Regions from separate parts of the Homo sapiens genome. Here regions 2, 3, 4 and 5 are each linked to region 1. The links are contacts of gene promoters, found by promoter capture Hi-C in blood cells and fetal thymus (Javierre and others, 2016). All regions are on one chromosome and are shown on one strand. Each heading gives the region's core, a stretch centred on a gene start or on the middle of the fragment in contact. The rest is flanking DNA. Distances are from core to core; before and after follow the strand shown.

What was found. Contacts are between HindIII fragments. The CHiCAGO score rates a contact against its expected background, and 5 or more counts as called.
Region 2: a fragment that was not itself captured here is called in contact with the fragment with the promoter of SLITRK6 in region 1 in 3 of 17 cell types (M1 macrophages, M2 macrophages and M0 macrophages); the score reaches 8.1 in M1 macrophages.
Region 3: a fragment that was not itself captured here is called in contact with the fragment with the promoter of SLITRK6 in region 1 in 3 of 17 cell types (M2 macrophages, M0 macrophages and erythroblasts); the score reaches 9.1 in M2 macrophages.
Region 4: a fragment that was not itself captured here is called in contact with the fragment with the promoter of SLITRK6 in region 1 in 8 of 17 cell types (M2 macrophages, M0 macrophages, megakaryocytes and 5 more); the score reaches 23.4 in M2 macrophages.
Region 5: a contact is called between a fragment that was not itself captured here and the fragment with the promoter of SLITRK6 in region 1, in 3 of 17 cell types (M0 macrophages, M1 macrophages and M2 macrophages). The highest score is 5.9, in M0 macrophages.

What each region holds. Positions count from the first base shown.
Region 1 is chr13:85,796,030-85,801,061 of GRCh38, forward strand. SLITRK6 (SLIT and NTRK like family member 6) reads right to left here and starts at 3,390. Exons shown (of 2, transcript NM_032229.3): 1 at 2,885-3,390; 2 at 1-503. The coding sequence starts at 479. The HindIII fragment of the contact is 4,986 bases long and covers 269-5,032 here.
Region 2 is chr13:84,947,854-84,952,676 of GRCh38, forward strand. No RefSeq gene overlaps it. Among named protein-coding and RNA genes, the nearest start is that of SNORA107, 170 kb to the left of the region's middle. The HindIII fragment of the contact is 2,566 bases long and covers 151-2,716 here.
Region 3 is chr13:84,856,097-84,860,829 of GRCh38, forward strand. No RefSeq gene overlaps it. Among named protein-coding and RNA genes, the nearest start is that of SNORA107, 75 kb to the left of the region's middle. The HindIII fragment of the contact is 2,010 bases long and covers 864-2,873 here.
Region 4 is chr13:84,930,943-84,935,969 of GRCh38, forward strand. No RefSeq gene overlaps it. Among named protein-coding and RNA genes, the nearest start is that of SNORA107, 150 kb to the left of the region's middle. The HindIII fragment of the contact is 4,207 bases long and covers 1-3,718 here.
Region 5 is chr13:84,876,890-84,881,468 of GRCh38, forward strand. The region is part of intron 5 of LOC105370290 (a long non-coding RNA gene); the gene reads right to left. Among named protein-coding and RNA genes, the nearest start is that of SNORA107, 96 kb to the left of the region's middle. The HindIII fragment of the contact is 4,992 bases long and covers 1-4,294 here.

The sequences.
Region 1 (5,032 bases), core at 2,140-4,639:
TTGAGCTTGCTAAAGGCACTTGGTTCAATCACTGTGATAAAATTGTTATCTGCTTGCAGGAATTCCAGGTTTTCCAGTCCATGGAAAGTATCCTCTTTAAGAATTTCTAAAGAATTGTGATTGATATGAAGTTGTTTCAGGAGGCCAAGGCCATTAAATGCACCTATCTCAATATCTGCAATATTGTTAAATCCAAGGTGTATTGAAATAGCATTGGTAAGCCCAGAAAAGTCATTTGTGTGAAGCATCGTCAAGCCGTTATTTAATAAGCTTAGTTGGAAAGGTCGTGATGGTGGCACACTTATTTCAGATACCATCTTGATACCTTTTGCTTCACAATTTATTAGCATTGTGCCATCTTTTTCCTCACAATTGCAAAGAGAATCACAAGAGCCTCTGGATGAGAGCACTGGAGTTTGGGAGTGTAAAGATATACAGGCAAGGAGAGATGAATAAAAGAGATGAATCCACAGCTTCATGTTGTCATGTGATGAAATCCGATTCTGTAAAATAAAACGCAATAGCAAGGGACTTTAGTGGGCAGAACTGGGGAGGAGATGAAGCTGATATTTTCAAAATAATAGGTTTTTCTCCAAAAAGCAAATGACGGATTACCATGAAAATATGGGTACCTTGCTGCATTTACATCATTTGTTTCTTTTTTTTTTTTCCTAATACTCAGACAGGCAAGTCTGGCTGACTTTTAACTTGCATTGTGTTCAAAATATAAAATTTAGGTCAAGGGGGATTTAAAATATTATATCATAAAATTTGTGCTCACATCTGATGAATAACCTGCATTTTAACAGATGAGAGAGATGCTGCCTTAGAGCACTGATACTTCACTGTGATGCAAAGTTATATATTTGAAAATATTTTTTAACCTTATGGTCATACATTTAAGGCTGGAGGATTATAGTAAAAGACAATTACATAGTTATTAGCCGTAAGCATAGAGAACTGTAGGGAATGTAAAAAATGATAAAAGAATGTATGTGTGCATATGTGTATGTGTGTATGCATGTACGCATGTAGCATGCATTGTCTTTATATTGTTGAACTGGGTGTCACACAATAACATCTAATAACTGTGTCTGTGTTTTAACCTGCTTCGGTTTTGGCTATATATATATATATATACTAATTTTATTGTTTATTTTGAAAACCTTGAGGAAAATGCGTCTTTGATCATGTTATAAAGTACAGTACTATAAGAACTCTTTTAACTATTCAATCAAGGGTAGTTTGTATAAGCGTAATAGTATCAGATACATACACTTAAGTGTGACCATTCAAATTTCACTTAAATCATTATATTTAATATTGAATTTCTAGAAGCAGTATATTGCTTACTGCTTCTTAATTACGTTATAGATGAGGTGGAAATGATAAAAACTAAAGAAGCAAGATTAATCTTTAACACACATTTCAGGCTGTTGTAAAAGAATAAACAATGCTTCATATAAACTTCTAGCAAATGACTTCCTAATGAGGTCTTGAAACAGTCTTTAGGGCACGGAATGTCATCACATAATTAAGCAGCTTTAAGCCTTTATTAAAAGGCTTAAAGTCGCAAACAATGAAATCTGAAACAAACTGTACCATATTAAACTTTTTGATGATATTTCAAATTCAGTAAAAGAAAAAAAGGATGGTTCAGAATAACATCACGTATTCTAATCCTGAAACACATAACAAATGCATCTGAAACAGCAATTCTTAAAAAGGTTTTGCCCTTTAAATGACAGTTATGCAAGGTAAACATTTATAGCTCTAATGAGATCTAATTTTATTTCCTTCCTTTAAATATTATACTTTAAACTTATATAAACTAAATTGAAATATAAACACATCTTATGACTATTCAACTTTTCAAAATAGTAATCAGTTTTCATTTTTGTTGTTTGAAATATGAACAGTAACTGAATCAAATTAAAATTCACAATCAGGTAAAACATACCAGAACCCAATCAACAATCCTGAAAGTAAACTTGCATTCCCTGAAAACATAGTGTTTTATTGAAAACACATATAGTACAAAGTTCCTGAAAGGCAAAAGGCAACTGAAGAAACAAAACAACATACTGCCTCTGTGTAAAGGGAAAGTTAGAAGATTTTATTTTTCTGTAGGTAAATAATTTGATTTTAAACAGCTTTGTGTGCTGAGTTTATAAACAAGCAGCTTGTAGTTGGAGTCTTCAACTTGTGGATTAGCTTCCACAATCACTAAAAGTACTTATTCATAAATTACCAAGAAAGAATAAGATTTATTTCACCAGGTATAGCATCAGAGAAAATAGTAAATAATTTTTCAGTGATAAACTCTTGTTATTTTGTAAATCCTGTATGAATTTTATGCTCTTCAAAACGTGCTAGGAAACAGTTTCTAATCTTTTCAGAAACACACACAGATGTGAAAAGTGGTTCTCTACTGACAATATCTGATACAGTGGTAAAGAGGTCAAAAGATACTCATTGACATGTTTTCTGAGAATACGTATTTTCAAATCAGAAAATAAGTAGCATACAAAATGCAAAGAATTATTCAATATTCTGCTTATATTTGCAATTCAACATTCGCATTTGGAAGTGATCCTTCCTTCAGAAAGCACACATATTTAGTTTCTAACAACAAACTGCATGTTGCAAAAGAAATAGTGGAATATTATATTTGTTCTTCTCTGTAGCCAGCTGTTAGACTAAATGTCTGCTTCTCAGAGAATACAGGCATCTGCTCCAGTGTTAGTTGTGCCAGTAAGCAAGAATGAAATTGAGTATCCTTTAATGCAAAGTTGTTTATTTAAAGGAAGCGAACATACAAATTCAATCACTTTACTATAATGCAAAAATAAGTATAAGAAAAGCCTGGAAACATTCATCTTACCTGTAAAGCAGAGACTCTTCCTGACGTTATCTGTAATGCACAGCTGGAAGAGGTGTTCAAAGTAATTCAATTCCTTTATTAAAAAAAAGAAAACACCAACCACTGCGTACTTTCTTCTCAAATATCACTTTTTGTCAAGTCCCATAGCTTCATAAAGTTAAAACCTCTGGTCAAAGATAGAATACTGAGCATTTCATTGAAAATATTTCAAGCAGAGTGCATACTAGAGCATCCTGAAGCAATTGTCCCTTTTTCCCTCAATTAAAATTCACGGCATACTTCACAGCTATGCTGACTTTTTTGCATATAGTTAACCATTTGCAAGCTGCTGAATGCAGTAAGTAAACAAGATGTTTAACAGAGCTGAGATTGATCACTCTTGCTTTCTTAGGTTGTAGATCCAAGCTACAGCAATGTTCTCCTTCCTCCTTTTCTAGTATTTCTTGTTAGCTCAGTTTGTTATTAGTCAGATTGCCAAGGGCTGGGAGGTAGGCGTAAATAAAGAGACTTCTTGGCTTTTGACTCAGCCTTTAAGCCCTTCCCCATCAGAGCGTTTTAATCTGCCAGTGTCATATAACACAAGAGACAGCTCCACCTTGGGACTGCTCAACTCCTCCTCTTTCTGCAAATGGTCTTTCCACTCCTTTCAATACCAAATATAGTGCAAGTGAATTTTGATGGAAATAATAACACGTCATTTTAAATGCTTAATAGTACATTGTGTTATAGCAAGCTAAATAATACGTTATGTTAAATTCTCAACTAACACTGTTCTGTAGTGTTTGCACACATGTGTGCAGGAAACACAAGAATGCTGCCTATAGAGTAGTTGCCTCTTTTTTTTCTTTTTTTTTTTAAATCTGGTATTTATAGTTGAAATTGTGCACTAACTAGATTGTAAAATGTTAACACGAACTGCTTCCCTGCAATATTTGTATTTTTGTATTCACCATTTAACTTTTTTAAAGCCTTATGTTAGGGACTCTAAGTTTTTACTTCATTATTTCTTTCCCTAGAGCTAATATTCAATAATTAAACTTAGAAATGAAGATCTTTCAGTTATTTTAATATATTTATTTAGAAGAAAAGCATAATTATTTTAAAATATATTTAAAAATCTTTAAACACAAAATAATTATCATTGATAAAGTTCTGTTTATCACTTTCAAAAATATAACATTATATCTTTACAGATAAAATGAAACAAGTGAAATATGTAGATATTACAATAACCTGATTTGTATAGTGCTAGCTCAGAGAGAATTTATTCTTAATAGGTTATATCTTAAAAGTTGCGTGTTTCTTCAGCTCTTAAAAGTTTCTGAATCATCACCATTATTACTCTTGTCAGATTCCTTATTTCTCAAAAAGCCTGTGGTTTAAAAAGTTATTCTTCTTACCTACCTTCCTGAACTTTTTCACATCCAAAGTGCATATACTAGATGCTGTCTTTTATTTGTTTATTCTGTTTAGAATAAATACAGATTCTAGAGGCCTTCTATGTAATAGTAGGTGTCATTTCAGAAAGTGCTGTTTTTAAAAAGGAGAGTTGATATAGTTTAAATCATCAAAATAGAAGAATATCACATTATTATTTAATGACATACACTCAGATTGATATAGTTTTATCGTCTCAGGGTGGTATATTGGCTCTAAACACATAAGGGCTCTGTGGGAATTTTCAGTATTCTCACTTTACTTTATATTTCCCAGTAATTAAGTTTCTCGTTTATTTTAATGACATTTTGTGCTTTAACATGGAAAAGAGATGATGATACAGAGGAGGGGGTTCGAAAATACAATAAAAATAAAAAAATGAGAGAATGAAGAGTATAAGTGAAGTTAAATATAAATAATTAGTGTTTGGCACAATTTCCTGCTAGCTGCTAGCCAAATTAATTAAATCAAGGTAATTATTTAGATAGATAGTTAGAAATTAGAATTTTAATCAATAAAAAAAGAAGGGGCAAGAATAATTTCCCTCCCAACCCTGTAGTCCTAATTTTTCACATGCATTCCTTTAGGTTTTGCAGTCAAGTGCATAGGAGAAATATTCTAGTAGCATAGTATGTGGAGCAAAATTTTTCAAGCCTACATATGGACAAATGAAAGTAATTTCTTTGTAGATTGACACATGTTTCTCTCATG
Region 2 (4,823 bases), core at 184-2,683, 850 kb before region 1:
TGTCTCAAAAAACCAAAACAAAAAAACAAAGACCATTTACAGAATAGAGGTAGACTTCCTCCAGACCCCAGCCTAAACACACACACACACACACACACACACACACACACACACACACACACGGAGGGAGAGAGAGAGTTTTCTATTAAAAGCTTGAAAGTTTGAGGAGAAGAAATTCCAACAGCATCTATGTGAAATGATCCAGTGGTCAGTTCTATATACTGGCCAGGATTTCTGAAGAGATGTTGTCATGGTGAGAAAAAGAGATTTGAGATTCATCAGAATATGTTATAGTTGGTACTTAAGGCTATAAACTTTGGAAAAACGTTAAAAAGAAGAAACTAAATATGTATGTAATGGACCCCAGGATAATATCTATGAATATGCCGATAGTTAGATTTTAGCAGAGGAGTAGAACCAGAAACAGGAGGTGAGTGGAAGAGCAGCCAGTTATGATGGAGTATTATTTCAGCAAGCCAAGAGAAGTTATTTCAAAGAAGTGTCATGTAGATAATAAAGCAAAAGTAGGGTGACTTGGTGACTAAAAAGTGGCCACTGGATCTGCCAACAGAAAGGCTATTTTGAAATTAATAATAGCAGTTATAATAAAGGCTGAGATGAGAACCTTTTTGGGAAGGGAAACTGAGGTGCTCAAGTCTCCCCAAAACTGACAGATAACAGATGAATTTCCCTGTGTAGGAGAGTAGAGAAATGGAGTGCTGAGGGGGAAGTGTTTAGTGCTTTTTATTTTTTAGATAGACATATTAAAGTGTCTCCGCTGTCTTTTTAACCAAATTTATTATAGTCATACTGAAACCAGCCCAATTGCCCCATCAAGTTAACATTTATAGTTTCTTCTGAATAAACATGGAAATCAGCACTCCCAGTCTTAAAATGGGAGAAAGTTACAAATGTCTTATCTGACTTTTTTCTCAGGATTCCCAGATAGTTACCAGATCACTCCATCTGGACAATGAGACTCCAGACCCCTCACCCACCACAATTGCCTAACCAACCACCTGCTTTCTGTTGACCAACTCCTCTTCCTTACCCCTCCCTGTTTCCTGTTTCCCATATGGATACATTTCTTCCTTCTATATAAACCCCTAATTTTAGTGGTTCAGAGAGCTGGATTTGAGATGGATCTTCCATCTCCTTGCATGCAGCACCCAAATAAACCCTTCTTCCCTGCCAATACTTGTTGTCTCAGTAATTGGCTTTCTTTGCAGAGAGCAGCAGGACCTAGACTGAACCCTTGGTCTAAGGTTCTACCTAAAAAAATTACATTTTATTTTTTCCTGTGTTTTTGTGAGACAGACTCAAGACTAACCGGTTTCATGCCATGTCAGGGTTTTGTAATTATTGATATATTTATAAGCTACATGTGTATATGATTTCTTTGCTTAGTCCTATTATCTTTTGTATTTCATTACTGTCATATTTTTTCTATATCATTTCCAATAGATCATGTTTTATTTAATTTACCTGAATTTTTTTTTGGATATTTTCTTCTGGTACTATTTGAAAACTTTCAAATTAATTTTTCTATCAGAGTATTTGTCTTTTAAGATATTTCCATTAAGTCTTTCTTTTATAAAATACAGTGATTTCATAATAATTTTTATCCTGTGCCTAATGTTTTGTTCTTTCTATTTTTTTTTATCTGAGGTAGTATAGGGTAAGGTAAGGTAAGGTAGAACTGAAAATGAATTTCAGCTCTTCACTGCTGTAACTTTGTTGCAGTGTCCATATCAAGCATTTGATTTTTCCAACCCTATACATAGATTTACACATATATGTTTGTTCTACATTACTGTTTTTAGATCACCTGCACCTCAACCTGTTTCTTCCAGCTTTCTTCTCCCAAATCTTCTCCATCTACAACAACACCCTTTCTGGCTTCACTGATATTCTTATTTATAAATATTAGCTGGTTATCTTCAAGTCTCTAGATTAGGGAAACAGAAAGTAAGGCTTAGTGTTTCTTCCAGCTTTGGCCTAGTTTCTCTTCATCCACTGAAACATGAACATATTAGCTTGATTCTCAAAATCTAGGGTCATGAAAAGCACTTGGAGACTTTGGTAAAACCAAATTTCCAGAAGCCATAATTTTCAGATGTTCTGATTCAGTAGATATGAAGTACGTCTTGATGATTTGCTTGTCCAACATTTCCCAAGGCTGCTGCTGCTGTTTTTCTGGGGATCTCATATTGAGAAAGATTGATATAGACTGAAGGAATTCCCCACATCACCAATGTTAATTAGAAAATGATGGCCTTTCATGGTGTCTTATTCCTTGTACGGTTTAGCTCTGCATCCCCACCCAAATCTCATCTCAATTTGTAACCCCCATGTGTCAAAGGAGGGATATGGTGGGAGGTGATTGAATCATGGAGGCAGTTTCCCCGATGCTGTTCTCATGATAACGAGTGAGTTCTCATGAGATCTGATGGTTTAAGTTTCATACTTCCTCTTTCACTCTTTCTCTCCTTCTGCCATATGAGATGTGCCTTGATTCTCCTTCGCCTTCTGCCATGATTCTAAGTTTCCTGAGCCCTCCCCAGCCATGAGGAACTATGAGGCAATTAAAGCCTTTTTTTCTTTATACATTACTCAGTATCAGGCAGTTCTTTCTAGCACTGTGAAAATGGACTAATGCACACCTGTAATCCCCACACTTTGGGAGGCTGAGGCAGGAGGATCACTTGAGGCCAGAAGCTTGAGACCAGCCTGGTCAATATGATGAGACCTTTTGTGTACAAAAAAATGCAAACAAATTAGCTGGGTGTGGTGACACACACCTATAGTCCCAGCTACTTGAGAAGCTAATGCAGGAGGATCACTCACGGTAGCCTCCACCTCCTCCACACCACTACTTCCAGCCTGAGCAAAAGGGTGAGATCCTGTCTCAAAAAGAAAAAAAAAAGAGAAACAAATATGACTTATTTTCTATCGCAAGCACATGAGAACATCTGCTGAAAGATCCTAGTCACTCTAGTATTCAATGCATCTCAACTCATAATCATTTGAACCAAAGCCTTTTCACATAAATGATGGAAAACATAATTAAAAGCTGTGAAGGTTGATCATAATAATAAAGATACTGCCATCCACTTAATGAGCCATTCAGACACTTCACTTCAGACTCCCACATTACTTGATGTACTCTCCCTTTTTCACTCTTTCTACAGTTTTCAATGTCTTTTTAGGAAACCTACTAAACACATACTTGAGTAATATATCTCTTCCTTGCCAGGAAGCAATAATGTCAGATCTATTCCAATACCTATTTGTTGATCTTATTTTTGACCATTTGTATTTGTTTTACGTACTGCATAATGAATTAAGAAAATGTTAGCAGCTTTAATATTACACATCTATTACCTCATAGTTTCTGCAGGTGAGAAATACAAAGATGAATTAGATGAGTCATTTGCCTAAGGCCTCACAAGACTAAAATCAAAGTATCATCCAAGGCTGGTTTATAATCCAAAGGCTCCACCAGGGGACCAAACTGTTTACCACCTCCCTTAGGTCATTGGTAGAATTCATGTCCTTACAGTTTTAGAGTTATGGCAGTTTGCTTCTTTAAAACCAACCACACAGAGATAAAGATTAGGGTGAGTAAGCAACCAAATGGAGTCTTACCAAATGTAATCTCATATGGTGTACCTTTGCCATATTCTCCAGGCTAGAAACAAGTCACAGGTTCTTCTCACAGTAAGAAGAAATGATAAAAAAGCATGAACCACAAAGAGCAAAAAACATGCAGATCACTTTTTAATCTGTCCACTGCACCATTTAATAGCTCCTTTTAAGTAAATTTGTCAGCTATTAATCCAATAATCATCTTTTAATTTTTATGTCGAAGCTTAAAGCATGATGATAAACTCCTACTTCATAGCATAGTTGCAACTGAGGAGCTGAGGTATAATAATAATAGTAGTAAAATAATAAATAATATAATAATAAAATATGTAATTGTTTATCATAATAAATTGATCTACTTCTTTAGGGGCGTATATTCTTAATGGCTGCTTTTAAATGTCATGATTTCTTAAAATTCTTAACATGTTGGTGAATATCATATATAAAAAAACAAAATTAAATGGTTCATGGCAGAAACTTTAGGACAGGTATCATATCATTTGTTTTTCTAAAATGACAATGTAAGAATCTTCCTGCCTGCATAAAAAGCTAGCTCAGATATTGACAATATTCCAAACAAAATATTTAATCAATATTCCAAATATATGCATTCATTTTAGAATACTATATTTCACATGCCATTAAATATATATTTATTTTTGAGGTTTTCTAACCTCTAATATTCCACATCAAAACTAATTTTAACATATGATATAGGCTTTGAAAAATATACCTATACAAATTAGAAAGATTTGTCAAAAGATTCATAAAACTATTTTGTTTATAAACTTTTCCTGCTCATTGGTCATTCATATATCTTTTGCATTTTTCTGAAAGCATTTTTTTCCATACTACCTAAACATAATTTAACATGCAATAGAAGGGAAGTTAGACTTCTCACCTCTCATGAAAATCCTGGGAAGGGATTTTTATATTCACGTAGTTTTACTCTTTGTAAAGCTCAGAAAAGCTGATGCACTGTCTGGCAATCTTTTATGTGTTTATTTAATTTTAGCGAATATCTGAAAATCCAAAAGCGTTCAATATTTTAACTTTTATGTGTTAACTACTTAATATGTTAATGCACCAATATGCACACATTACATATGATACAATGATTACTGTTCCCATGTTTATTTAACAGGACTATTTTCAATTTCTTAGGTCAAGTTGGA
Region 3 (4,733 bases), core at 619-3,118, 940 kb before region 1:
AGGTGAATTGAAATGTAATTCACTTGGTTTCTGTTGGAGTTCATAGCATGAGCTAGACACTTGACAATCCCTTCCCTCTCCAACATTAAATTTTTAAAATAACTTTATGAACACATGTTATTTTAATTATTGATATGTAGTATCATTTTAATATCCATATATTTATATATATATAACCCCAATGACTTTTTTAAAATTAATATTTACTTGGTATATTCGTACTCATACATGTATGTACATAGTATCAAAACTAAATCTTAATATCTATATTAAAACAGATTGATAGAATATTTCTGAATATTTAAAACATTTATAATTATTATGTAATAATTATTGGATTGATCAGAATAATAGTTACCTATAGGTGTCCAAATGGACAAGTGGATTCTAAAAGATTTTTCTTTAAATGCTGAAATAAATCCATTTTTACTTAAAAATAAATCGCTTTTAAAATATTTTCCAAACAAAAATATCTCAATGTTTAACAGTAACTAAATAATGCTGTTTACTTTTATGGTTATGTTTTCTACATACCCTCTATTTTCCTTTTATGAGATATATAACTATTTTTCGTTTATAAGAAAAATAAATCAATGTTTGTTTATATAATTTCTATAAACAAAGCACTTATTATTTATTTTATCACATGTATACAGCAAAACACCAACAAAATATCAAGGAATCAATTACCACACGTTATTCCTGATGTACAATGTAGTTAGATATTAGCATGTATGTAATTACACATAGCCCTTACACACACATATTTATAAATTTTAAAAGCTTTGGACTTCATGAAGCTGTGGAAAGGAATTAGTCTCTGGTGTAGTGTTACTGTCTTTGTGTCTGATGTTAGAGCCTGAAGCTTGAAGTCTATAAGGCATCAAGGAAAGAGAGATAAATTCAAGTAAGTTAGGGGAAAACAAGAAGCTGAAACCCACAAGCAGGAGCTAGTGCCCATAGGGACAGACTAACATCTATGTCAATATTTTCTGTTCTTGATCTCAGTAAGGTGTATATTTAGCAGAAGCCAGGGATCTTTTTTTTTTTTTATTATACTTTAAGTTCTGAGATACATGTGCAGAACGTGCAGGTTTGTTACATAGGTATACACGTGCCATGGTGGTTTGCTGCACCCATCAACCCATCGTCTACATTAGGTATTCCTCCTAATGCTCTCCCTCCCCAGCCCCCCACCCCCAGACAGGCCCCGATGTGTGATGTTCCCCTCCCTGTGTCCATGTGTTCTCATTGTTCAACTCTCACTTATGAGTGAGAACATAAGGTATTTGGTTTTCTGTTCCTGTGTTAGTTTGCTGAGAATGATGGTTTCCAGATTCATCCATGTCCCTGCAAAGGACATGAACTCATTTTTTATGGCTGCATAGTATTCCATGGTGTATATTTGCCATATTTTCTTTATCCAGTCTATCATTGATGGGCATTTGGATTGGTTCCAAGTCTTTGCTATTGTAGATAGTGCTCCAATAAACATATGTGTGCATGAGTCTTTACAGTAGAATGATTTATAATCCTCTGGATATATACCCAGTAATGGGATTGCTGGGTCAAATGGTATTTCTGGTTCTAGATCCTTGAAGAATCGCCACGCTGTCTTCCACAATGGTTGAACTAATTTACACTCCGACCAACAGTGTAAAAGCGTTCCTATTTCTCCACATCCTCTCCAGCATCTGTTGTTTCCTGACTTTTTAATGATCGCCATTCTAACTGGTGTGAGATGGTATCTCATTGTGGTTTCAATTCATATTTCTCTAATGACCAGTGACGATGAGCTTTTTTTCATATGTTTGTTGGCTGCATAAATGTTTTCTTTTGAGAAGTGTCTGTTCATATCCTTCGCCCACTTTTTGATAGGGTTTTTTTTTTCTTATAAATTTGTTTAAGTTCCTTGTATATTCTGGATATTAGCCCTTTGTCAGACGGATAGATTGCCAAAATTTTCTCCCATTCTGTAGGTTGCCTGTTCGCACTGATGATAGTTTCTTTTGCTGTGCAGAAGCTCTTTAGTTTAATTAGATCCCATTTGTCAATTTTGGCTGATACTGTCTCACAAGTCATTGATGTTCTTCTTCATTTTGTTTTCAGTCTTACATATATGTTTTATTTTCAAGTTTTAACTGTTTTTCTTCTATAAACTCTCTGGTTATTCTTTTCATCTATTGTTTGTTTGTTTTTTAATTCCAGAGACTTTATTTTTCATCTCCAAAATTTTGACTTGCCATCTTTTCCATAAGTTATGTTTTGTTTCTGTGTTTGTTTTGAGACAGGGTATTCCTCTGTTGCCCAGGTTGGAGTGCAGTGGCAAGATCTTTGCTCAGTGCAACCTCTGTCTCCCAGACTCAAGTGATCCTGCCACCTCAGCCTCCCAAGCAGCTGGGACTACAGGTGTGAGGCGCCATGCCTAGCTAATTTTTGTACTTGTGGTAGAGATGGGTTTTGGCCATGTTGTGCAGGCTGGTCTCCAACTCCTGAGCTCAAGTAATCCATCTGCCTTGGCTTCACAAAGTGCTAGGATTACAGGTGTAAGCCACCGCACCTGGCTGATGATCATTTTTAAACATACTTTCTGAGCATATCAAACAGATATTTATGATATCTGTTTTTATATCTTTTTCTTCTAGTTCCATTATTACTGTCACTTTTTTTGTTTCTAGTTATTGTTGTTTTATTTTCCTGATTATAGTTTATGTCATCCTTTTATTTTTTGAGCCTGAAAATGTTATAGGAAATGCTAGGAGGTGTCAATGTGATATTGTCAGATGCTAAATTTCTTTGTGTTCCCTTAAATAATATTGGACGTTTCATAATACACAGTTAAGTTGCCTGAATGATGGGTTTTTCTTCTACAAAGCTTTTAAGCTTCATTACAGAGGATACAGAGCAATGTTAGGCATAATTTAGTCCCACTAAAACTTAGATACATTTGAGGACCTCACCTCAACAATGTGCCATTACAGGGTCTCTGTGATAATCTATTAGATTTACAATTCTAATTTTTATATTTCAGTTCTTATTACATTTGATGTATACATTTTGATATGGTATCATGAAAGACTTCAGTTTTATATTTAAAACGTTTAGAGTTTTTTTATCATTGATTTTAACAATTTTTTTTCAAAACTCTCATTAAAATCACCTGTGATTTGTATTTCATAGTTTATCATCACTGGATGTGAAACCTCCATTTAGTGCCACTGCCCACATTATTACTATAATCACTTTTTGCCCTCTGGGGTTTTTGAAAGTTTTCTTTTTTAAAAACATGTACACCCAAACATGTGAAATTCCCTAAGCTTGTCACAGTGATCTCTAATATATTCTATTAGAAATGATCACTGTCTCCTAGGCTTTCAGTAATTTTAATTTCACTAATTTTTTTTCAACAGCTATATATTAATTGCCTAGCACATGAATATCTTATAAGGACAGAATTGTAGGAAAAGGAAACTTTATTCCTACCTGAGACTTATAGTATATTGAGGATTTTAGCCATTAACTTTTAAAATCACTTTTTTAAAATTTAAAAATCACAAAACTGTCTATACTTTAATGATCTGTACAATTTTGTTAAGCTTTTCATAACAAATGATGTTTATGAATGAAAATTTAGAAGTGATACAGCAAACACATAAAATGGGGCTACCTTAGACTGAGGGCCAGATTAGTGACTTCTCAGGTTATGTGACAGTTAATGTGCTGTATAACTATGCAACAAAATAATTATTAGAATGATTTTATACTATTATATTTGACTTGGTATTTTGTTTCATGGAAAATGAAGAAACAAAGTCATATATGATATCTATATTTATTCACATATTAATTTGTGCAGTTGTTTTAGTTGCTGAATAATTTTAACACCTTATCTGAGATGGAAAAAAGTGATGATATGTAGGAATACTTGAGAAAATAAAGTCGCTAAATTGACACCTTCTCTCCTTGAAAGGGAGGACGCTATGATGAGAAACATACTTTCCAAATCTTACCATCAGGGCCTCCTCCCATGTGGTGCTACCCCACTGCATATCTATGTAATACATGGCCTGTTCTCTGATCCAGAGACATCATCCTTTCTGTTAGAATTTCTGTCTATCTATGATTAACAAACATGTTAATTTACCATAACTCACTTATATGGAAGAAAACAGCTTTTTCTTAGATATACCTGGCTTTATATATGAAAGCTTTTACTATTTTGTATCTTTGTTTGCTGTTTCTAAAATTCTCTGTTATATATCTAAATAATACTTATTTATATAAGTGACTATGGTCAAGAACCTTCATGATCTGAGGTCTTTGCTCTTTCTATTTGTCCTACTTCTTGAAAGTATGCCAACAATTTTTTTTCTATCCAGTCTATCCTGTCTTTGGCTTAATTTTTCTTCAAAACTACTGTTCTTCCTTCTTGTTTCCAATTTTTATACCATCTTTTTAGATTTTAAAATGTTCAGCTTTCTTGTTCAATTGGTTTCATCCATTTGATGTTCAGTGGTGTGCTGTTGTGTTCATTTCATCAGTTTCATTTTTATTTCCTCTTTACATGTCTTACAACACTTTTTCCCATATGAATTTATTCCAACTTGCTTGATATACTCCATACCTAGGCTCATTATCCCTTCTGATAGCTGTAAGAAGAGACACTAAATTAACTCTAAAGTGTGTTAATCATATGAGTTAAAGAGAGGTGTATCTTTAGGATTGCAAATGAG
Region 4 (5,027 bases), core at 365-2,864, 870 kb before region 1:
ATGACAAAACAAAAACAGTAATGGAGTTTACAAACTATAATTAGAAATAAATTTCAAGTGTTTGTAATTAATTCTATTCACAGTATGGTAACATTGATGTTAACTATCTAGAAAAATATCAAAAAGATAATATACAGCTTTATCATTTTACAGCATTTATATTTTAGAAAATAATTTAAAGTATTATTTACTACTTTCACTTAGTAACTGATAGCCAATGCAAACAGAATACTTTTTTATTTAAGAAAAATTTTATTATTATTAACAGCAGTTGCTACTTGTCTGATTTGCTACTTATGGGATTTGATAAAAATACATTTTAGAATCTGTTCATTTTGGTACTTCAAAAACCCTCTTTGTACTCACTATAAATAATCATATATCTTTCTGTCCTCAGTGAAAATGAAGAGTGATGAAAATGATTGTGTTATGTACTTATTATAAATGGACTGTTCTCAGTGCAGGATTCCAGGAATAATATGTAATATTCAAAACATCATACACATCTCACTAAAGTCCAAGAATATGAGTGAGATCATAGAAAGCATAGAATTTCAAATACCCTGGTTTAAATCTACATACTCTCAGCCTCATATTGAAGTTCTCTTATTTCTTTAATACCTTTCAGAATCTTCAGGAGCAAAATTTGAATGTATTCAAAACTCCCTCGGGAATAACAAACAGTTCACTCAGCCCAGACTGCTCAAAATCTTTTACATCCTTGTTCTCATTGCTCTAAATTCCCATTATTCATTTTACCTTTGCTAACAAGATCTGGTTTTGTTTCTTTGATTCTTTTCCTCAATTATAATCATTGTCCCCTCCAAAGTTAAACTCTTCATAATTCTTGGCACCTAACAAATGGTGGATTTACTCCCGGTGGTGCTACATTTCACTCTGGCTATAAATTATTTTACATGTGCCCCACAAAAATCTTCAAGACTTGTCTATATTTCAGCAGAAATGAGACATTATAACTCACGTTCTGCTTAGGAGACTCTGTTCTTCTTACATTAGTTGAAACTTTATACCTATGTGGATTAAGTGGAGGCTGAACATTGCCTAATTCCACATAACGGGCATATATGGATGTCAGCTGTAGGCCAGCCAGTATACAGATACCATAATATGCCTATATTAAATAGTAATAGTCTTATGTTGACTAATCTGAAGATGTTAAAATTAAAAAACTTTAATGTTTGTCTGTATTTACTCTAAGATTATACTAAAATTTATTTAGTAACTCATTTTTAAAATGTTGACATTACTGTTTTTGGGAGGGTGGGGTAGGGTCCCGCTCTGTCACCCAGGATGGAGTGCAGTGGCTGGATTATGGCTCACTGCATCCCCAACTTCCTGGGCTCAAGCAATCCTCCTGCCTCAGCCTCCTGGGTAGCTGGGACTACATCATGCACTACCTCACCTGGCTCATTTTTTGTAGTTTTTTTGTGGAGATGGGGTCTCACCATGTTGCCCAGGCTGGTCGCAAACTCCTGGGTTCAAGTGACCCACCCGCCTCAGCCTCCCAAAGTGTTGAGATTACAGGTGTAAGCCACAATGCCTACCTTACTTTTTGCCTTGGTGTGGTAGCTCATATCTGTAATCCCAGCATTTTGGAAGGCTGTGGCGGGAGGATCACTTGAGAACAAGAGTTGGAGACCAGTCTGGACAACATAGCAAGACCCTATCTTTACAAAAAAAATCAAAAAGAAGTTTTAAAAGTAAAATGTTTATATTACTTTTAGTATTACTACAGTAAGTAATAATTAAAATATTCTTAAATATGAAAAATAGAAAGTATATTAAATGTTCTTGGAATTAATCTCTATGAGTAGAAATACTGGGTCCCAATGCATGAGATTACATAGATTGTCAAAACCCTTTTCATAACCCTTCCAGGTGCCTCTTATATTCTTGCAAACATTTGATGGCTGAAAATGAGATATCATTTGATGATATAATTTTATGGTTACCATCACATAAATTTTATTTTATATGTATTGACAATTAGGTTTTCTTCCATCACCTATCTTTTTATCTCTTCTTGCACTTTCTACTAATGTCTTTATTCTCTTCCTTTGCATTGTACTAGAGTTTACGTCTGCATGCCATTGATTCTTATTACTAACAATATATGAATAAAATTTATGTTCTTCATCATTTCCACTATAAATGGTAATTATAATATTTTGTCTAGGGTTTCACAGCCTTTCTTCAAAATCCCATCCATTTACTTCTTGGTCTTAGCCTCTCTTTACAGAGTGTTTTCTGCTCCAGTTCCTTAGAGCCACAGGCTTTTGTGTCCTACAGAAGAGTCTAAATCATTCCCTACATTTGATAAAATGAAATATTCAGAGTGATGCTTTTGCCATCATTGTGTAAGAAGGTTATAGTCTTACTTTGTTCTGAAGTATTTTTTCCAGTGATCAAGTGTCAGTCCTCATTTTATTTAATCACTCCGCAGCATTTGACACACTTGATCACATCTTTTCACTTGATTACTCTCCTAGCTCACCAGTCATTCTAAGTCTCTTTTGTTGGCTCTCCTCTTATGTACCTGTACAGGCTGCACTTTCCCAGGACTGTGTTTTACTGTCTGTTTTTCTATCTTTACATTTACTACCCAGGGAATGCTATACAGGCCCAGGTGTTTAAATGTTGTAAATGCTGATACTTTCTACTGTAGTTTCTCTAGCCCTCGTTTTTCTATTGACTTGGGTATGAGATCAAATTCCTTACAAATGAAGACTGACAGAGGGATTGACATACAAGGAACCTACTAAGGGGATGTTGTCATGGGTGGCCACAAAGAGCCTCAGGAAACAGAATAAGGAATAGATGAAACCAAGCAACAATTTGGTTTCAGATAAGGAGCCACAGAGTTTGTTCCACCTGGAAGAAACAAAGATGGGCTATTTCTCTTCATATGTGATGACAAGGAAGAAATTGTGTGATGTGAGGTGGTTCTGATAGCCCAAGAACAATGTATGAGCAGATGTGAGCAGCAATGTAGGCGATGCATGCAGCCATTCAGTGAACTTTGACACTAGGGCATTTGGGTGTTGCAACAACAGTGTCTGCTTCAATGTCAGATTGCTTACTTGATATCTCTGCTTTAACATTAAGAGTCACCTAACATAAAACCATTTTAAAGTAGAATTCTGTGCCTTTTGACAAACTCTTCCAGTCTCATGATTGCTCAGTCTTCCCTAAGGAAAAAAAATTCAAAGCAGAGTGCTAAATTGAAGATAAATGTTTGCTTGGTACACTAACTTGCTTTCTATACTTGGTGACTCTCATGTTCCTGCATAGAGAACAGAATTCTCATTTGTACATCAAAGAACAACATCACTATGAACTTCTGGGCACTTAGGGAATATACTTATTATGATGATAAATTAACTGTATCTATATTTGAGTATCTCTTCTGCCTCTTTTTCCTAGTTGTGTTATCTTTCAGAGATATCTTACAAAAGAAAACCGGTTCTGAGGGGAAAGGTTTCCAATGAAAGCCTGTAGATTTTGTTGATTTAGATTCTGTCATTGTATTATATCATTTTCAATGCATTAAATTTTTATAGGTCTAAGGTAACCTTTCAAATTTTAAGAGCACTCTAATGGATTTTCACTGTACTGCCTGTATTTGAGTGAAATCATACAGCTCTCCTAGCTTTATCAAATTATTTATCTGACTCTGCTAAAACACCTAAACAATCCAAGCTTTTTATTCAGTGAATCAAATATTACACAATAAAATAAAGAGGGATGCACTTATACATGTGTATGAAAATGGAAAAGAGTCACAACATAAATTTAACCAGTTATAAATTTAGATATCCCATCCAGCAACTAATTAAATATAGTAATATAACATATTAGTTTTTAAAGCATATTTTTATTTAGAGAGGACAAAAAGACACTCAGCTATCTTATACTTGGTTGTGATTCTTACTTTCTTTGGAAATAGAACATAATAATATAGTTTTTACATCCCTAGGACATTTTCTCAGTTGGATGTTTCAGAGTAGACTACTTATTTTTAATGATTTGATATTCTGTCTTCACTGCCTTTTACACGGTTAAGTTACTTTCACTTTTATATTGCTAAAAATATTGTTCAACTAAAAACACTGAAGTCTCAAAAGCTGCACATATAAGCGCAATTAATGACTGGCAGTCAGTGTCCTTCATTTAGACTATCTGAAATTCATAGTGCAGCTTTATGCTCGTAACTGTTTTAACCTCTGTTGCTGTCATGGGATCTCTGCGCATATTTGCACATAGATCTCAGCAGGATGGTAAAATGTATGTTTTTTGTTGGAAACTGGGATATTTTAAAGTCTTTAGCACAAAGATCTAACAATGAACACTTTTTCCGTTCTTTGTGGTTGATAAAATTCTGTTTTATAGAGAAAATACTAAAAAGCCAATATTGTACAAGTACAAAAAGCCACATTTTGTTAAATATACCGAATAATTGGTTGTTATTTCTCCTTGAAATACAAATAACATAAGCAATCATACTTGACCTACTATATGCTAACAATCCAAACACAAAACAAAAACTTGTGCCTTATGACACTTTCATAAAATATTCAGCCATAAAGTATTCACAAAGAGATAAATATTATCTCTTTATCAATATATTTATGAGTATGCTCAAAACTGCATATTTAAAAGTACCTTAACCATCCTAAGACTGCCAAGCACAACTGTTATTTTCATTAGAGTAGCATTAAGCTACATTTTAGTGAAAATTCAATGGGTAAATATTAAAATATACTTGTAAAGTCAAAAAAGCATAAGTCAAATCAGCATTAGTGGAGGACCTTCTGTATAAGTCTGTGAAACTACTTTCACAATCAAGAAAATATAATTTTCATTTGTTCACAAAAGGGTCTATATAAGTCAGTGTAATCCAAACCTCCTTCCATCCCGGTTTCCAGGCAACTACTGATGTAGTGTCACTATATATTAGATTGCAGGCTTTTATCATTTTAAATAAATTGAATCTTCCAGTATTGCTT
Region 5 (4,579 bases), core at 549-3,048, 920 kb before region 1:
AGGTTGCTCAGGGAGATAAAACTCCCTTGAAGCAGTGAAGTATAATCAAACATCTTGGCTCCTCCTGAAACCATTCCCACCCATTTCATTCCCAATAAGTTAAAGATCTTAAGTAGTTTAGACACACGCCTTTGCTCAAGGAAATTCACAGAAACTGCCACTGCTATACATCTTATTGAATGACTCAGAGTTCTCCTTCACTGATTAATCCTTTTCCTCATCCCTTCCTCCCCCTCCCATCTGCCCTAAGAACAAAGAGCTTGTAAACCAATAAATTAGGGGGATTCCTGAGAGCTCTGGGCCATGAGCAAGCCTCTAATGCTCCAGTTCCCTGGACCCACCTTTTAAATGCTTATTCTGTCTTTTTCTAACTCCTTTGTCTCTGCCAGACTCAAGGTACCCACTGTGGTGTGGGGCTGGTTTCCCCAACATTATTTTACTCTTTTGTTAGTTCAGTCTCTGCAATTGATTCCTGTTCTGCTCGATATTGGATCAAAAATCCTCATGAATACGTCAGCTCTCCATGAGAGCCCTGGAAAATTTTCTGTCTATTCCAATGTTACAATCTCTAAAATTATGAGAAACCTATATTTAACAGTGATCCTTAGACTTCTATAGCTGGTTATAAACTGCCTTGTTAAAGGATTAAATTAAAATGTCTTAGAACAGCTATAGTTAAAGATACAATTGACAAGGAAATTTAGTTCTGTGTCATTCAACTATTTTACATAATAATTATAATTACTATTGATAACATATACTAAGACATATTAGAGTCACAGGAATCTCATATAATCTTGCAATAAATACTACTAACACATTTATATAAATATAATCCAAAGATGGTTAAACATCATTTTATATTTGACAATGCTTCCTATATGATTTTATTACATCAAATAAGCCAAACATTTATTTTTGGACTTCAAGGGACCTACTAACAAAAAATTAATGAGGTCAATAGGACTGAATTTAGCACGTGATTTTAGAAAGTTCATCAAACATAAAAAGTTTAAAACACTTGACATCACAGAATAGGATCACAGGTCACTGTAAAATAAGTCATTCATTTAGCCAAAGTAAAAACTCAAAGATTTCCCCCTAAAAAGCAAAAACCTTTATTATTTGAGACAGGAGAATTAATTTCCCAAGCAATAAGCTCTAATAAAAACACCATGAGACTAGTTGAATCTGTCTCTCAAATGTTATAAACAAATCTATTTAATTTTAATTACCTTGACCCTAAGATATAATTTCCATAAATCTTTTTATAAAATTTTATACTTTTTTTAAAGATTTGGTTAATGCTCCAAGAAAGGCTTATTATTCTGACTCAGGGGCCTATATGCTGCTCTTGCATCAGTGTGCATTTGATATTAATGTTAAATTTATAGAGAAACTGAGTTAATTTTATCTCTCAAAATGGGCTATTACAATCTCATGTGACTACCTCTTCTGCAATAGTATCTGGGTCTACAGGGGTTCAATAGTTTTAATTTCTGGCTCTCTGTCTCACAAAGGCAGTTTATTTTGATTGTCATCATCTCTCAGTTCTGATGAAGGCTTTAACTGCTGTGAATGCTTAATATTTAGCAGTACTTGGTGTCCTTTTTAGACCCAGGAGTCAAAGTACTGTAATGTAATAGCACAGGACTCTAAAAGCAATACAGAAAGTTACATGGATATAAAAGGCTTAATTTTTTAAAGTTTTTAATTATTTGTTTTTAAGTTATAATTTGTTTTAATTTAAGTTTTCCTAGGGAAATCAAAACTTAGTAAAAATGACATAGAAATTATTTCAACAAAACATAAAATTTATTTGTTACACCAGTTACAAAAAGGCAAAAAAAGAAAAAACAAGAAAAGTCCTTCTGCAGTGTGATTGCTTGTCTTTCCCTATGGGGAGTTCATTTAGATAACTTGGAAGTCAAAACTAATAAAAATGATACTTGAATTAGTCAAACATAGGAAGAGTGTATCCTGGGGCATAAGTGGAGCTTTTTTGTTTCGTTAAAGCCAAAGGCACAGAATGTTATGTTGAAAGAAGATATTTCCTTTAGAGCTTTAAGATAAAACATTTTTCGCATCAGGCCGCAATAGCAGTTAGAACCCGAGAGAAAAAATTTGAAGGAGTTATTATTTCATGTTTTCTCAAATGGGGGAGAAAACTGAAAACAATGAGATGCAATAAAAGTCGAAATTTGGGGTTAAAATAAATTAAATCTCTTGTAATTTTATTACGAGCAAATAAATAAGACAATTTTGGTGTTCCTACCAATTCTTTAGTGTGTTAGTGTATTTTTAATATCAAAGCCCAATATTTAGAAACACTTTTATAAATAATTTCCTTTTATTATAGCCAATGTGTTCATTTAAAGTTTTCTTTCTCATAAATTCTCTTTGTACAAATCTGATCATGACTTACACAAACCATTTGCATTATACTCAGACTTCCTGTTTTATCCTAAGCATCCCTCTCTCCTAAATAACCAATTATTTTACTTTAGGACAAAAATTATCTTACAAGATTATTTCCCATACACAATTATTTTCCTTTTAACCTTTACTAGCTGAAACGCCTCTTTATATTTATAACTTTCTTTGCATCTCTCTTATTTATTGGTTCCTTTTACTTTGTTTCATAAGTAATCTTTAAATAACTTTTGAATTAGGCAAAAATTATTTTCCTTTAAATAAGAACACATTTAAAAAATGATTTCCTATAATTTTTAAAACATTGGAAATGACCCAGACATTTAATGACCATCTTTTATTTAGTTTAATATAATTTTAGATTCTAAATAATATGACAAATTTATTTATAAGCATTTATTCCATTACATTTACCTGATTAATTTATTTTTAATAGTTTACCGTAGATTACTTATGAAAAATGTGATAGTTATTATTTAAAGTTATTTTCCTGTTAACCATTTGTATATCCTGTGAATTTCAGGTGTTTACTTAAGAATAATAAGGTTAAGTAATTCTTTTTGTCAATAACTCAAGATTTAGCTGTTTGTATTGAACAAGCAATATTAAATGCCTTATTTATAAAAAATGACACAAATAAAGATAATTCTCTTTTGGGCTGCATTTATAGCTTTATAACCCTCATGGCAAATTTTGACAGCTTATAATATCTAGCAGAGATAAATTTAAAACTATTTGACCAATAAATCTAAACAATAATGTATGCTGACAATTCTGAAGACATTTCTAATTTTATTTTACCAACGAGCTTACTTATTAAATATTAATTTAAGTCAGGTAAACTTAAAATGGATTTGGGCTTAAAGCCTCTATTTTTCTGATACAGCATTTGATTTAAGCACTTTTTTTTCTTTACGCCAATGAATTAGAGCTCTTTTTAATATTTTTTGTAGTGAAACATATACATGACATACATTATATATTAAATAAATACACAGATATATTAGATATGCAGGTAGAAGTACATCTTATAGATCCACAAGACCCTTTTCTTTTTCTGCTATTTTAGACTTTCAATTTCTTGATAATCTGTTTCATTACTCCAGGCAACTGTAAGCTGGAGAGCCCTAAATTTGCTTACTTAAGTAACAACTCTTAGGTGAAAATCAGATAGCAAAATTCACACTTCAAAGTACAGAGAGATAGAGGAGAGAGAGATAGAGAAGAGAGAAAGAGAGTCTGTTGTATGAGAGGGAGATTAAAAATAGATGCCAAATCAAACATAAAATTCTATCTTCCACAGGATTGTATAAGAGGACCAATTTTATTTAGTAGGTAGTTTTAAATTTAGTCTCTATCTTTTAACTGGATCACTGGGCTCTGAGCAAAGCTCCCACTGAATCCCAGGTCTGCAAAAAAAGGGCTGTCATGAGATTAAGCCACGTGATGCTTTTACACTGCACTTTGTTATAAAGACATTTCTCTGTCTAAACCACACCCTTTCTTATCTTAAACAATCAAGAGTAGCCCCTGTTGTAATAATTATTTAAGTCCAAAAAAATCATATAACACAATACAAAAACAAGTAGTTGAAGATCTGAGAGGAGCTTTTCTTTTTAAACTTTTGGAGTTTACGTAAGGAAAGACAAGGGTTTCTCTCCGAAAAGGAGTCTGGGAAAATAATGATTCCTCAATAGACTATAAAAGAAACTGGTAAAATGGTTTCTTCTGATTACATGGAAGAAAGATCACGGGCATAACGACTTTATAGTTCTTGTGTAAGAAATTATAAAACAAAACATTAGTATTCTGTGCTGCTTACTATTGAATGCAAAAAGGAAAACATGAAGTATTAATTTTAAGCTTGTTTTAAAATGGGAGTCCAAAACCATGACAATTTAAAGAAGCATTTGCTTCTCATACCCAATTTTTAAAATATTAAAATGAAGAAAGCCCTTGAGTTATAAAACAATTTAACCATTCTTATATTAATGATGAAATATCATTAATATTTCATCAATATCAAGTGTGATTTCAAACAATACCGCACTTATTGTTTAAACCTCTGTGCAAAATAAGAGTCTCAGATTAAAGAATAATATGGTTTTCAGCTAATCTTTTCTTTCCATTGGACAAAAATACCTTA